Regions from separate parts of the Homo sapiens genome. Here region 2 is linked to region 1. Evidence: promoter capture Hi-C in 16 types of primary human blood cells and fetal thymus (Javierre and others, 2016). All regions are on one chromosome and are shown on one strand. The core of a region is centred on a gene start or on the middle of the fragment in contact, and the rest is flanking DNA. Distances in the headings are between cores, read along the strand shown. Region 1 holds the start of LRRC8D (leucine rich repeat containing 8 VRAC subunit D). Region 2 has its middle 4.3 kb from the start of LMO4.

What was found. The method cuts DNA at HindIII sites, captures the fragments that hold promoters and counts their contacts. A CHiCAGO score of 5 or more calls a contact.
Region 2: a fragment that was not itself captured here is called in contact with the fragment with the promoter of LRRC8D in region 1 in 1 of 17 cell types (neutrophils); the score reaches 6.0 in neutrophils.

The regions. Positions count from the first base shown.
Region 1 is chr1:89,817,582-89,824,296 of GRCh38, forward strand. LRRC8D (leucine rich repeat containing 8 VRAC subunit D) reads left to right here and starts at 3,451. Exons shown (of 3, transcript NM_001134479.2): 1 at 3,451-3,710. LRRC8D-DT (LRRC8D divergent transcript) reads right to left here and starts at 4,213. Exons shown (of 1, transcript NR_185885.1): 1 at 2,593-4,213. RefSeq lists silencers at 2,980-3,039, 3,480-3,829, 3,930-4,029, 4,120-4,329, 4,201-4,420. The HindIII fragment of the contact is 10,555 bases long and covers 1-6,715 here.
Region 2 is chr1:87,321,272-87,327,986 of GRCh38, forward strand. No RefSeq gene overlaps it. Among named protein-coding and RNA genes, the nearest start is that of LMO4, 4.3 kb to the right of the region's middle. RefSeq lists a silencer at 4,792-4,841. The HindIII fragment of the contact is 2,031 bases long and covers 2,037-4,067 here.

The DNA of each region.
Region 1 (6,715 bases), core at 2,201-4,700:
TTCCATCATATTTCTTAATTCTGAACCCAACATCAAATCAGTTATTGTCCTTTGCTGCCTCCGTTCTGTTTTTTTGTGGAAAAGGGGAAACTGATGGGCTGATTTTTTTGTTTCTGTTTTTACATCATAGATAATCAGAGTTATTTTTCATTACTTATCATTGGTAGACTTCTTACTAGTTTGATCCATGCTATAGTCTGAATATTGCGTCCCCCGCCCCTCCATTTTATATGTTGAAATCCTAACCCCTAAACTGATGGTATTAGGAGGTCATTCCTTTGGGAGGCGATTAGGTCATGATGGCAGAGCCTTCATGAATGGGATTAGTGGCCTTAAAAAGGAGGCCTGAGAGAGACCCTCACTCCTTCCACTATATGAAGACACAGCAAGAAGTCACCCTCTCTGAACTAGAAAGAAGACACACACACACACAGACGTGGAATCTGCTGTTGCCTTGAACTTCCTAGCCCCCAGACTATAGGAAATAAAAATTTTTTTTTTTTTTTTTTTGAGACAGAGCCTCACTCTGTCACCCAGGCTGGAGTGCACTGGCATGATCTTGGCTGATTGCAACCTCCACCTCCTGGGTTCAAGTGATTCTCCTGCCTCAGCCTCCCGAGTAGCTGGGATTACAGGTGCCTGCCACCACTCATAGCTAATTTTTTTATTTTTAGTAGAGACAGGGTTCCACCATGTTGGCCAGGCTGGTCTCGAACTCCTGACCTCAGGTGATCCTCCAGCCTAGGTCTCCCAAAGTGCTGGGATTACAGGCATAAGCCACCATGCCCAGCCAATTTCTGTTGCTTATAAGCCACCCAGCTTATGGTATTTTGTTATAATAGCCTGAATATACTCTAAAACAATCCTTTAAATTTTTAAAATTATTATTCTGATTATCAGAGTAATATGTGCTCAATATAAAAACAATTCAAACATACAGAACTTGATGAAAGGCCCTAGTAATCCCACACCCAGAGATAATCACCATTAACAGCTTGTTATATATGCTTCCAGACTTCTTCTGAAGCATACATTTAATAACATGTATATCTTAATGCAAAAAAGTACAAAAAAATGGAATCATACTATTCATATTGTTCTGCAGCCTCCTTTTTTTTCACTTATAGATTTTGGACATCCTTCCATGTAGGTACAAATAGATCTAGCTTATTTTTGTTAATGGCTGCTTATGGTTTCCTTCTACAGATCTAGCAAAATTTGCTTAAACAGTTTCCTACTGGGACTTTATTATTTGATTTTTACACCATTACATGTTCCCACTATTACAAACAATGTTGCAATAAGACACGTATATATATATTTTTGTACATGTGTAAATATTTCTGACATAATTTTTGCACAAATATGCTTAAAGCACAAACTCTTAGACATGGACTTACCTATTCAAAGGGAACACACCTATTTATCAAAAATTTCCAAATTGTCCTCCAAAGGGGTTTGTCCAATTTCCTCTTACTTTTACAGTGTGTGAGTGTCTATTTCTCCACATTTGACTGTTTTCTGAATATCACTTTTTTCTTTTCTCGATTTATACCAATCTTAAAATCATGTTTTTCAAGTCTAGAATCACAATTTAAAACCCAGGGAAGATCAAAAGAACAAAGTACAGAAGATTGGTTTTTTTGGTTTTTTGGTTTTGAGATGGAGTCTCACTCTGTCGCCCAGGCTGGAGTGTGGTGGCACCATCTCAGCTCACTGCAACCTCCGCCTCCCAGGTTCAAGCGATTCTCCTGCCTCAGGCTCCTGAGTAGCTTGGATTACAGGTGCGTGCCAACATGCCCAGATAATTTTTGTGTCTTTAGTAGAGACGGGTTTTCACCATGTTGGTCAGGCTGGTCTCTAACTCCTGACCTCGTGATCCTCTTGCCTCGGCCTCCCAAGGTACCGGGACTACAGGCGTGAGCCACTGCACCCGGCCTATAATTTTTTTTTTTTTTTACAAACAGCAAAACATTCCATATTCATTATAATAGTGGGCTGTTTTCAATAAAAATATCACACCACTAGTTGTTAAGTTTTAAAAGACCTCTCATCTCTTAGATCAGCAAATCTGACACTGATTAGATCACTTACACACACTCCCTGCCCATACACCTCCTTCTTGGCAGTGTGTGGAACAGGAGTGGCTGCTGGCAAGGAGGGTCGGGGAAGGAAAGTGAGAGCAAAAGGGCCGAGGGCTCAGAATCTGGTGGCATCTTGTAACGGGTCTCGGGCAGTCCCTTGAGTGTATTCTGGACCTCTCTGTTCATGTTCCTGTTTGGGCTGCTCTTCTTCACGTCCAATGCCTGAGGGCCAAGTGCTCACCATCCAAGGGTCAATTCTATCAGCTCCTCTCTGAATCCTTTTCTGAAACCCTGGACAATCATTCTCTTTAATGTCTCACTGTCTCTGAACCGACACCTTCCTGAGTACCTGTAACATTTGTGCAGCATGCTTATTAAGAATATTTAGATGCTGGGTAAACGTTGATTGAACATTTGCTGACATGGAGAGATATTGGTAGAAGACAGATTAGACTTCCGATGGTTTACAGAAACACATGGATTCAGATAAAAGAAGATATGAAAGCACTGGGTTGAACCACATATTTTATTACAACCAAATAACTCCAAATATCCCGCCTTAATTTATTTATTGGCCCCTGCCTCTGCTCACCCACAAAAAAGACTGCAAATGAACCCCGATCCTACAACAACAACAACAAAAAACGGTGACATTATCGGGCTGCAAAACCCTCTTAGCATAGAATAATCTTTTCATCTGCCTCTTTCAGATGTAACATATTTTTGACGAAAAGAATGGGATGAAAACGGCGGGCTCAGATAAAAACAAGAACCGACTTTCCAATACAGCTTCAATAACAGACGGAACACATGAAGCTGAGAAACTCTCCATGCCAAGTAGTAGTTGTGTGTGCCCCAAAGCTCAGATAAGTACTTCTCCTTAGAGTTGGAAGGCACTTAAGTGACTTTTTAACGTAATTCAACTCCCCACCCCCAGCGCCAAGTCTTAATATCAGAGTTTTAGTCGACGGGACAGCCTCCTTCGCCCAGGACGGGTGAAGGCTCCTGACCATGCCTCGCAGCTAACTGGCAGCTGCGCCTGCCCGGCACCGAGCCCTGCCCAGGTGGACGCTTGCGAGAGCATTACGGCGATGGTTATGTAGGCTGCCGTTCTTCCCCTCCCAAGCACCTGCTCCGCATCTAGCAGTCGCTCGCCGCCAGTCTCCAACCCCGGGTCCCCTCCCTCGCCACACAGACCCCGTCCGGTCAGGCGCTGCAGGGCCACCGGAGAAAGCGCTCGCAATCACATGGAGGCCCGGGCCCGCCCCATTGGCTGCGGCCGGGCCAGTCGCGGCACTCGCCGGCTGCGGTTGGTCCCAGAGCTGCAGCGCCTGCACGGGCCCGGAGTCCATGTTACGCTTTGTCTAATTCCCCTCGTTACAGAGTCATGTGCTGCTGCTCCCGTCGCCGCTGCTGCCGCTGCCGCTGCCGCCGCCCGTGGTGCCCCGGCTCCTCCGCCGCGCTTCGAGGTGGCAGCCGCGGGCGGGGCCGCGGGAGCAGGGTCCAGGGTGCAGCGCGCCTTCGCCGCCCCGGCGCGTCCCGGTGCAGCCGCCGCCCGCCGCGGGTGATGCCGCCACCTCCGGCCTCAGCATAAGCCGTGGCTTGGCGGCCGAGCTGCACCCCAAGGTTGGTGCGCACCTCTCCCGGCAGGGGCCGGGGGCTGCGAGGGAAGGCGACGCGCAGGTGGAGCCGCGCCGAGCCGGAGCGCGCAACCCTGGCGCAGGCGCCGCGGCCCGAGCTGCGGTTGCGGCCGGGAACTCATTCGGGGACGTCCGGGGGTCGGGAGGAGGTGGCGGCGAGCGGAGTGGGCTCCCGTTTGCTGCCGCCAGGGCCTGGGAGATTGTTCCGCTTTCTGCAGTCTGAGCGTCGGCCGCTTCGGCCCCGGGCGGCCGGCCCTGCGGGAGGGGAGTGCGGCTTCCTGGCTCCTGAACCCCTCGCGCGCGCTCCCTTCTCTCACCTCCCTCCGCCCTATCGGAAAGGCGGGGAGAGCCGGTTTCGGCTCTGCTGGTTCCTCCCGGAGGTGGGTGTTTGGTGTCTGGCCTTGCTGGCCCGGCGTCCAAAGGTGAGCCCTTTAACTTCTCCAGAATCGCCTCCCCTCCGCTTCCTTCCTGTGCAGGGTGGGCTGCGCTGGGAGCCCGGCGGGCGGGGGCGGGGAGGTGAAGGCCCGCGCCCCGCCCCCCGCGCCTGTGGGAGGGAGCTGGGGGCCCGCAGGTGCACCCAGCCGTCCGCGGGCCGTCTCCGGGTTGGGTACCGGTATAATCCGCTTCTAGCTTGTTTGGAGGCGTGGGCTCTTGGGAGCGGGACTTCTGCTCAAATCCTGTCCAGGGGCTTGAAAAGGAGGAGAATTGGGGGTGGTTGCCGGGAGGACCAGCACCTCCAGTTACTGGAGGGTTGATAGGGGCCTTCTCCTTTCCGTCACCCTTTACTAGGGGGTATCCCTTGCAGATAAATGAGATTTTTTGATTTCTTAAAAAGCCAGCTGCAGTGAAGAAGAACTGCTGCAGGTCGAGGGGAAGAGAGGTAGGTCCTTGCTGGAGAGGGAGAGGTGGGCTGTGAGGTTCCAGGAGCACGCACTTGGGGTGTGTGTGGCCGAAAGTATGGAGGTAGGGTTGTGGGAAGGAAACAGCCGAGATGAGAGGGAGGGCGCACTCAGGATGTAGGCGGAGAGATGGGGAATAGGTACTGGGGAGTCCTAGCGGAATGTGGGGCCCAGCTGGAGCCGCTTGGCTTATATTTGGCTCCTCGTTGCCTCGCAGATTTCCTGCTCTTGGATCTTCAAAAATATTTTTTTGTTGGACAAAGAAAACTCTGAGGACATATTTTGGAAGAGCTGATTTCTGGAAACTTTCCTTGGCAGCTTTGATAGTAAAATTCCGTACAGGCAGCGTTTATTGAGCACCTATTACGTGGTTTGTACCGGACTTTGGAAGAGTCTGGACAGGCAGGGAATCCCCGTTTGCAGTAATGATGAGGGCTGTCTACCTTATAAACAAATAAGGGGCCCCTCCCAGTGCCAAGAATGAGAGTGATCAGACCTTCCTCGCCATAGCATCTGGGACCTCTGCTTCTTACAGACCTGTGGGAAGAACCCTGCACCATATCCTGTAAATGGGGTCCTCAGGCAGCATTTATTTTTGCAGTCCAAAAATAGTGACCAAACACCTACTGTCAGCTAGGCGAGAGTTGGGGTTCTTGCTTCATCTGTCTTGACACCAACTAACTAAATCCCTGTTAAAATCCAAGTGCAAGATGGGGAGGAATCTGAGATGAAAATTAGGTGGTTAAAACAGGGGTCACGAAAAGTTGATTTGGGGTGTTTGGTCTCTGTAGGTTACTTATGGAGCCCCCCATAAAATGATTAGGTAATCTATGGAGCCAGGGAAAAATTCCAAAATCTTGAATTGGCACAGTTTATTTATATATTTGAACACTATGTTAGATTTGTCTCGTTTTTATTGAGAGTGTATGTGTGCGTGTTGATTAAAACCTAACAGATTAGAAGGTTGGAGAGGAAACTGTCCTTAGATGACCCAGCCTTCCATTACCATGTGGAGTAGCATATGATGCAACACTTAAAGTATTGAGCCATATTCATATCATTTTCTCCCTGCTGTGTTTTCCAGCATTTAAAAAACATGGTCAAAACTTGGCCCTTTTTTTCTCAAAATCGCTAAAGTTTAATGGAAAGAAAAAAGAAAAAAACTAGGCCCCTTTTCCCTTAATTTTTATATTATGCAGCATTTTTAAAAATTAATTTTAGAAAATTCTGATGTGTTTGTCATGTCCAAATAGTTAAATTGTTTTGGTAGCTATAGTTTGGAAATTAGACTCGATTCTGTTCTCAGTACTGTAGACAAAATAGCTATTAAAGTCAAAAGTTTGTCAAAACTTTGTAATCATGATTATTATGTTGTTGAAGTGGTAGCTTGTAAGAGATTTCAGTTATTTTTAATTGGAGCTGGTGTTTGACATTCTAAGAAACACCAGTTAATATTTGTTGAGTGCCAGCAGGAAGCAGAGAACTGGAGTGGGTGCTGTGGGATCTTAACAAGGCAGGAGAGGATTCTCGTAGTAATCACAGAGAGCAGATAAGACAGGCACACATGAGGATGCCAGCAGAAGCAGACAGTTACAGTTGTCTAAGAATCCAGGGTGTGTGGAACCAGATAAAAGTTTATGAAGTATGCTGAGGGAGGAGTGGAAATCTGAATTGACTTTTGACAGTGGTCAGGGATGTGGAACAGAATATACGACTAATAAAGGAGGGTAGAGGGAACCTAGTTCGTGAAAAACTTAACCACAAGTCAGTGGTGTTAATCATTTGCCTCAAGACCAGTGGCTCTCAGAAGTAGGCAATTTTGCTTCTCAGCAGACATTGAGGAATGTCGGAGACATTTATGGTTATCATAGCGAGGTGGCAGGTGCTGCTGTCATCTAGTGGCTAGAGGACAGGGATGATACATAAGCATCCTACTGTGCACAGGACATCAACCCCCTTCCTCCTAAACAAAGAATGATCCTGTCCAAAATGGCGATAGTGCCTGCCCTTAGATCTCAGAATAGGTCTTGAAGGGAGGTGGTTCTTGACATGGGAGGAGTAATAACATTGAGCTTAGGAAGCTGATGTAGGA
Region 2 (6,715 bases), core at 1,802-4,301, 2.5 Mb before region 1:
AGATTGTTTAGATGACTGCTAGAAGCTACTAAATTAAGATAAAATGAAAAAAGAATTATTTTCTTTAAGCCAAGTGTTCAGTCAAGTTACCCGCCTCCAATCTTGACTGCTCTGGCAAAAGAGACACCATTATTTTTGCATCAGATTATTAAATATTATTGGGTATAAGATAAAATTTCTAGAAATCAAGGCATGTTTTAAATGTCATCTAGGAAATAACCATTAAATTTTAAATTATTATTTATATTGTTTGCGATATTACATAGTACATATTAAGAGTTGAAAATACTGGTTGTTTTTCTAGAAAGCAATTGTTGTAGTAAATAAAACAATAATGAAATCACAATGATGAAAACTCAGTAAGGAAATAAAAGGAACATTTGTCTAGTAGAGTTTACCCTGAGAAATAATTGAATTTGGAGAAACCCAGCAAAAATGAGACAGGAGGAAAATAAACCTAAAACTGAAAGAGAGTTGTGATTGGTGATGATTGTTATTTAACGTTCTGGCAAATGAACTTTAAAGTGATAGTCATAACACATTAAATGGTATCTGTACATTTTATATCAAATATATTATAAACTTTTTCCCAAATAATAATGAACTTGCCTACTATCCATTAATTCAAAAAAATTCTCTTTTATTCTATCAGCTGTATTACAACACTTGAAGAGACCTTTTAAAATCTTTCAGTATTTGTTCTGCTCCACCTCTATCTGTTCCAATGATCTTAGGGCTTTCTTTCCAAAAGGCAGACGCTGGTATAACTACAAATGAAAACTATATCTAAATCATTAGTAGAATAGTGATGTTATGCATTCAATAGTTGAGATCTGTGATTCCTCCCTCTCAGGAGTAAACCACACAGATGAAAATTAATAGAAACTGAGTGACCGTCTTAATAGAAATCACACTAGAAAAAAGAGAAATGCTTAAGTTGTGAATTCCCCCATATTGTTAATGGAGTTCAAGTAGGCCATCAATATGTGTCCTATTTACTGATAGGTGCAAAATAGGTGGTGGGAGATCAATCAAAACCCCCTTCCATAAATTACCATGACTTCTAGAAATTATCAAAACTTCACTGGAGTGTCATGCGTAGTCTTCCCAGCAATGAGTTATAGTCAATAATTCATTCCCTGACGGAGCTGATAACAGGCAGATATTCTAATAATGTGCTAGGATTTACTACTGGACACAAGCAGTAAGTAGGAATTTCAATGCAGTGTTAAATGTTATCTCAGTGGAGAAAAGCAATAAAAAGAGGACAGAGAGAGGCATCTGGGGACAATGCTTGGGTGTTTTAATGCTGTAATTAGAGCAAACATGTATGAAGGTAGTGTTGTTTAAGTTTTCATTCTTTTTTGAGGCAAATTGTTTCCAGAGTATTGTTCTGTAATGACTTCTCCTGGCCTTATTGTCAGAGAGTATAGCAGATGGCATTGAAAAAAAATGCTGAAAAGAAAGTCTATTTTATTCTTCAGTTATTTCTCCAAATTTGAAAATGGCTTCCCTTGAATGTTTTCCTTTTAAATGAAACTTTCAAAAAAATTATTATCTTAGACTAAAGGTCTTAAATATATTTTCAGTGATTTCTTATCACACAGAGAAATTGACAAATTTGCTTTCTCTGTCAGAATGTTTTGAAGCTAGAAAAGAAGTGGTGATTCATCAAAAACAATTTTATTATGAAATTTGATTTATGTTGAGAAATATAAATGATGATGTTATAATGTGTACCTCTGTGTGGTGGGAACACATTTTAGTCAATTGAGTTATTCAATTTTATTATTTAAAAAAATCCATATCTGGTTGTTCTTTTTATTCTAAAAAATTTATGGTGCTGTATAGAGAAGAAATGCGTGCTTTCCAAGTCCAAGGACAGCTATGGATTGTACTTCCATAATTCCAACAGAGTCATTCATTACAATTGGATGAATAAATATTATCATATTTTCATCAACTTTTTTAGTGAACAAATAGAAACCAATGTTATACTTTAAAATACATCTTATTACAAATCCACACAGAGAAAAAGCTTAATTATATCAACACTAGAATTAAAACTGACACTAACAAAAGAAATTATGGTTTTGGGCCCTTAAAATTTCTGAATTAGTAGCCTTTCTTTTACCAAGAAGAGTTAGTGGGAACATAAGGGAGAACGAATTACATCTTAATGCCTTAGTTTCTCTATCAGTAAGTGCTCATTTCCATCGTCTTGGAGAGAAACAGTAATTAATTTTAAACAGAATTGCTATTTTCTGCTGGATTTATAACTTCAACATATATTCTTAGTAATAACCACCTCACATATATACAAGTGGCCCAGTCATCTATATACCCTCTTTTGTAACTATTATGAAATTAAATCTATCCATGCAAAGACTTGACTTTAATAAGCAGTAGCTATTGACCCACTAGACCATTTAAAAGACCTTAATGAACATATAATACACTCACACATATAGTCTGATAATTTATTTGCAATGATAGATGCAGAATATCACTGTGATTGAATATTGTTGACAGAATTCAGGCTTAGAAATAGGTAGTATGAGTAAGCCAAACAATTTTTTCTATGGTATCATTGCCATGAAACAGATTCACATATCAAGATTTGCTGGGCTGAGCACAATGGCTCACATCTGTCATCCCAGCACTTTGAGAGGCTGAGGTGGGAGGATCCCCAGAGGCCAGGAGTTCAAGACTAGCCTGGGCAACCAGTGAGACCCCTGTCTCTACCAAAAAAAATTAGCTGGGCGTGGTGGTATGCACCTGCAGTCCCAGCTACTGGGGTAGGGGTGAGGGGGCTAAGGAGGTGGGAGGATGGCTTGAGCTCAAAGTTTGAGGCTGCAGTGAGCCTTTAGCCTGTGACCCATCCAAGACCTTGTCTCAAAAAAAAAAGAAAAAAAAAAGATTTGCTGATAGTTCTGAGGCAAATTTGGGGGATTTGTACTGTTCTGTTGCTATGCTAATAAACTTTTACGAAGACAATGAGTAATTTCACGACACTATTTTAAAGTAGCCTTGCTACATCAGGCAAAATGCTGGGTCACAGAGGTGTTTTCTTCTTTCCTATTATCTTTTTCACCTTTCTATCAACTCTAGGAGTTTCAAATACCTTAATCAAATAGAATAATTAAAATCAAAATCTACATCTTAAATTATATTTCCAGTCACAACAATGTCAATGCTGTTTCCTTTTCCTCAGTGATCTGTTATTTTCTTGCCATAAAATCAACTTCTTCACTATGCTTGTTTATTACCTTAAAAAGAGTAGTTAGGGTAGAACTTCCTAAATATTGATTAACATAATTTGGTGGGATACTTACCCAACGTAGTCATCTGGATTGCTTTAACAAAAAACAAACAATAATATTCTAATAAGGCAATTATTAGAAACATTTATCACATGAAACATTTAGTGAGATATTTATAAAGAATTTTGAGAAAGACTAAAAAGGCAGTCAGTAAATTCAAAGTATTATTAAATATTATCAATATTTTAAAGCCAAGATATGGTTCCGTGAAATATAGGCTTTTCGAGATGTTGAGTTCTAGGTAAACTCTTATTATTATTATTATTTTGCGACAGGGCCTCACTCCCATTTCCCAGGTTAGAGTGCTGTGGCACAATCATGGCTCACTGCAGCCTCAACTTCCAGGGCTCAGGTGATCCTCCCACCTCAGCATCCCCAGCAGCTGGGACTACAGGCACATGTCACCACACCCAGCTAAAGTTTTGTATTTTTAGTAGAGATGGAGTTTTGCCATGGTGCCCAGGATGGTCTTGAACTCAAGGGATTCACCTGCCTCGGCCTCCCAAAGTGCAGGGATTATAGGCGTGGGCCACTGGGCCTGTAAACTCCTATTCTTAAATGAAGCAGCAGGTCCGACTATACTTACTGTGCCATACACCCTGCTGCTCAGACGACAACGCCACCACAGAAAACTGGCCCAGGACCTAACCTGCCCTTCCTCTTCCTTGGGTTTTTTCTGTTGGTAACTACTGTTCCCTTTTCTCTCCACACCTTTTACACTCTGGAATTGTTGTCCTAGACTCAAGCTTTTTGTATTCACGTTGGAGGAAACTGAATATCAAGGGATCTCTGTGATGGCAGCAATAAAGTTGAGCAGATTTTTAAAAATTTTCCTTCCTAAAAAGACTTTCTTCAAAAACGGTTTTGCATTGACTTTAAAAGGACAGAATATTTTTTCCTGAGAAAGAGCTGGGGCATGTTGTCTTGGAGGTCATATCAGCATCAAATAGCCTAGACTTTCTCCAGACATTAAAGGCTGCATAGGTCTGTGTAGAACCTCTGGCTGTCCATGGGAGATTCTTAGCGAACTGTCACTTGGAGAAAAGAATGATTATGATTGAAGGACATAAACGAGAAAGGAAGCTATGAACAAATAATTTTGGGGCAAGTGGAGAAAATGACGGCTTGATCTAGGAGCAGTATGGTTCCCACATTTAATTAGGATTCAAGAAAGAAACGATTTACATTTATCTTTCTTTTCCAAAGCCCCCTAATCTTATATCTCATTGCAGATGAGTAGGATGAATGATGAATGTGTGATATCAGCAGAGGTTTCGTCAACTGTGGGGCACAATATAACATTATTTCGAGTTAGGCAATTTTACTTCATACCAGGAATATTACTTTATGCACTGTTTTTAATATTTGTTTGAAGAATATCCGAATACAGAATTTCTTTACCCATACTGAATTTGTGTGTGTTTACAAGGTTTTTGTGTTTCGCATCAGTGGAAATAAAAGATTGACGTTGCTACCCACTCAACCAGGCATTTTCAGACCACAAATCAGGATGAGAAAGGACTGCTAAACGCAAAGAATGCAGAAATAAAGATTACCCAGAGGTGGCGCTGTGGTAAAAGTACACCTGAATTTTGATTACAGTGAATGTATTTACTCCCTACCTCTCAGAAGAGAGACTGTTAGCCATTATCGCTTTTGTATTTCTATAAACACACATCAGCAAATAAAGCTCTCTGGTAATACACTCCCATCCACTCCAATCTACCAGGACATGTTTAAAGACCTCACTCCGCACAGAATTAGAGCTGAAGCACTAAAACCACCTCCTAAAATGTAGGCCCTGTAGCCTAGAGCTCTGTTATTCAAAGTTTTATCCATCTCACTCTCCTTCCTTCCACAAACACCACCGGGATCCTCTGGATAATCACTCAATGATAGCTGAACATGTGTCTGGTTAAATTTCTAACATTTCCTTCAGGAATTAAGATTTCGTTTTAGTGCATATTCTTCAGGAAAAATCCTGAAAAGTACCACAATTCGTTATACATCTATGCATTATGTGCTCTATCTAAGAAAATCATTTTTAAAAAGAAAAAATAAAGACCATTTGGCTTAATTCTCTCATTTGTGGATGAGAAAATTAAGGCCCAGAGACGGAAATTTACTTGCACATGACAAATCATAACTTAATTGTAGCCCACTAAGATCTTGTGTCATCTCCTTTTATTATAAATTATTTAAAAAGTGAAAATGAACCAGGGGATTCAAATGTATTATTTGTTTATGGTGTTCCTCTCCTCATCTGGTTTAATTGAGTTTTCTTGACTAACCTTCAAGCAGCATTACATCTTTTCTAAGTTGGTCCTCTTTAATCATGCCCATCTGTAGCTGTTTTCTGTGTAGGACATTTTAATTACTATTATAGTTTTAATGACTTTTTTTTAAAAAAAGTTTTTTATATGTGCACAAGGTGAATTCATCATAGCAGTGCAACTTTAAATACAAATCAATAAAATTAATTCATTTAATTTTAAGGTGCTAGAATTAAAAAATGAGTATTTGAATTGATATTTAAAATGCCCTCTACCTGACTGTATGGGCAATAATTATTCTTTCTTATGCAGCCTTATTAATTTTGATGGTTTGAAAGACAGAAATCCCCCAAATAGACACTAAAACCCTAAATGTTCAACATCTGCATTGTCTCGCCAGATTCTCCTTCAGGTTCCTTTCCTCAATCTAGCAGTACTGTGTGTAACACAATATGAAAACTTGCCCCACAAGGCTGGTTTTACTTAATGATACTTAGCAGAAGGGCTTTGCACTTTCATGATAATTTCCACCAGAAAAATCTCTCTGGAACTTACTAACAATAATCAGGCCTAATATTAGCCTCAGTCTGGAGATTTATTTAACCTATTTGGCAGAGTAGATAAAGTCGAATGCCTAGGTATTCAAGCATCTAGGCTGTGCTTCGGCCTTGGAAAAAGACTCTCAGGCTAGCACCCTAAAAGCATTCCTCAAAACTTGATTTATACTAGAAGTGACATTTCTTACTCTCTAGAGGCTGTGAGATTGCAAATCTTGCAATTACTTCCATTGCTTTTGGGGGCTGTGAGAATTTCCGCCTCTCATCCTCCACAGTGAGGAGGGTAGTCGGGAAAGGCTTTCTCCCTTAAGTTTTCGTCAACTTTGAAAATAAGGACTGTGCTCCCTACATCACCAGCAATTGACAAGGATCCAGGAAATGCCTGCTAGGCACTTTCAAACTCGGAAAAATGGGAGTATGAGGGAGGCTAAGTAGGCAGTATTTAGCTAGCAACTATTATTTCCTTTATGTTTCTACCTTGTTAACTAAGCTTCCACTACGGTTCATAAATCTCCAATATCGTGAATTAAAGAAACAACAACAAAAATCCTCTTCTGTGTGC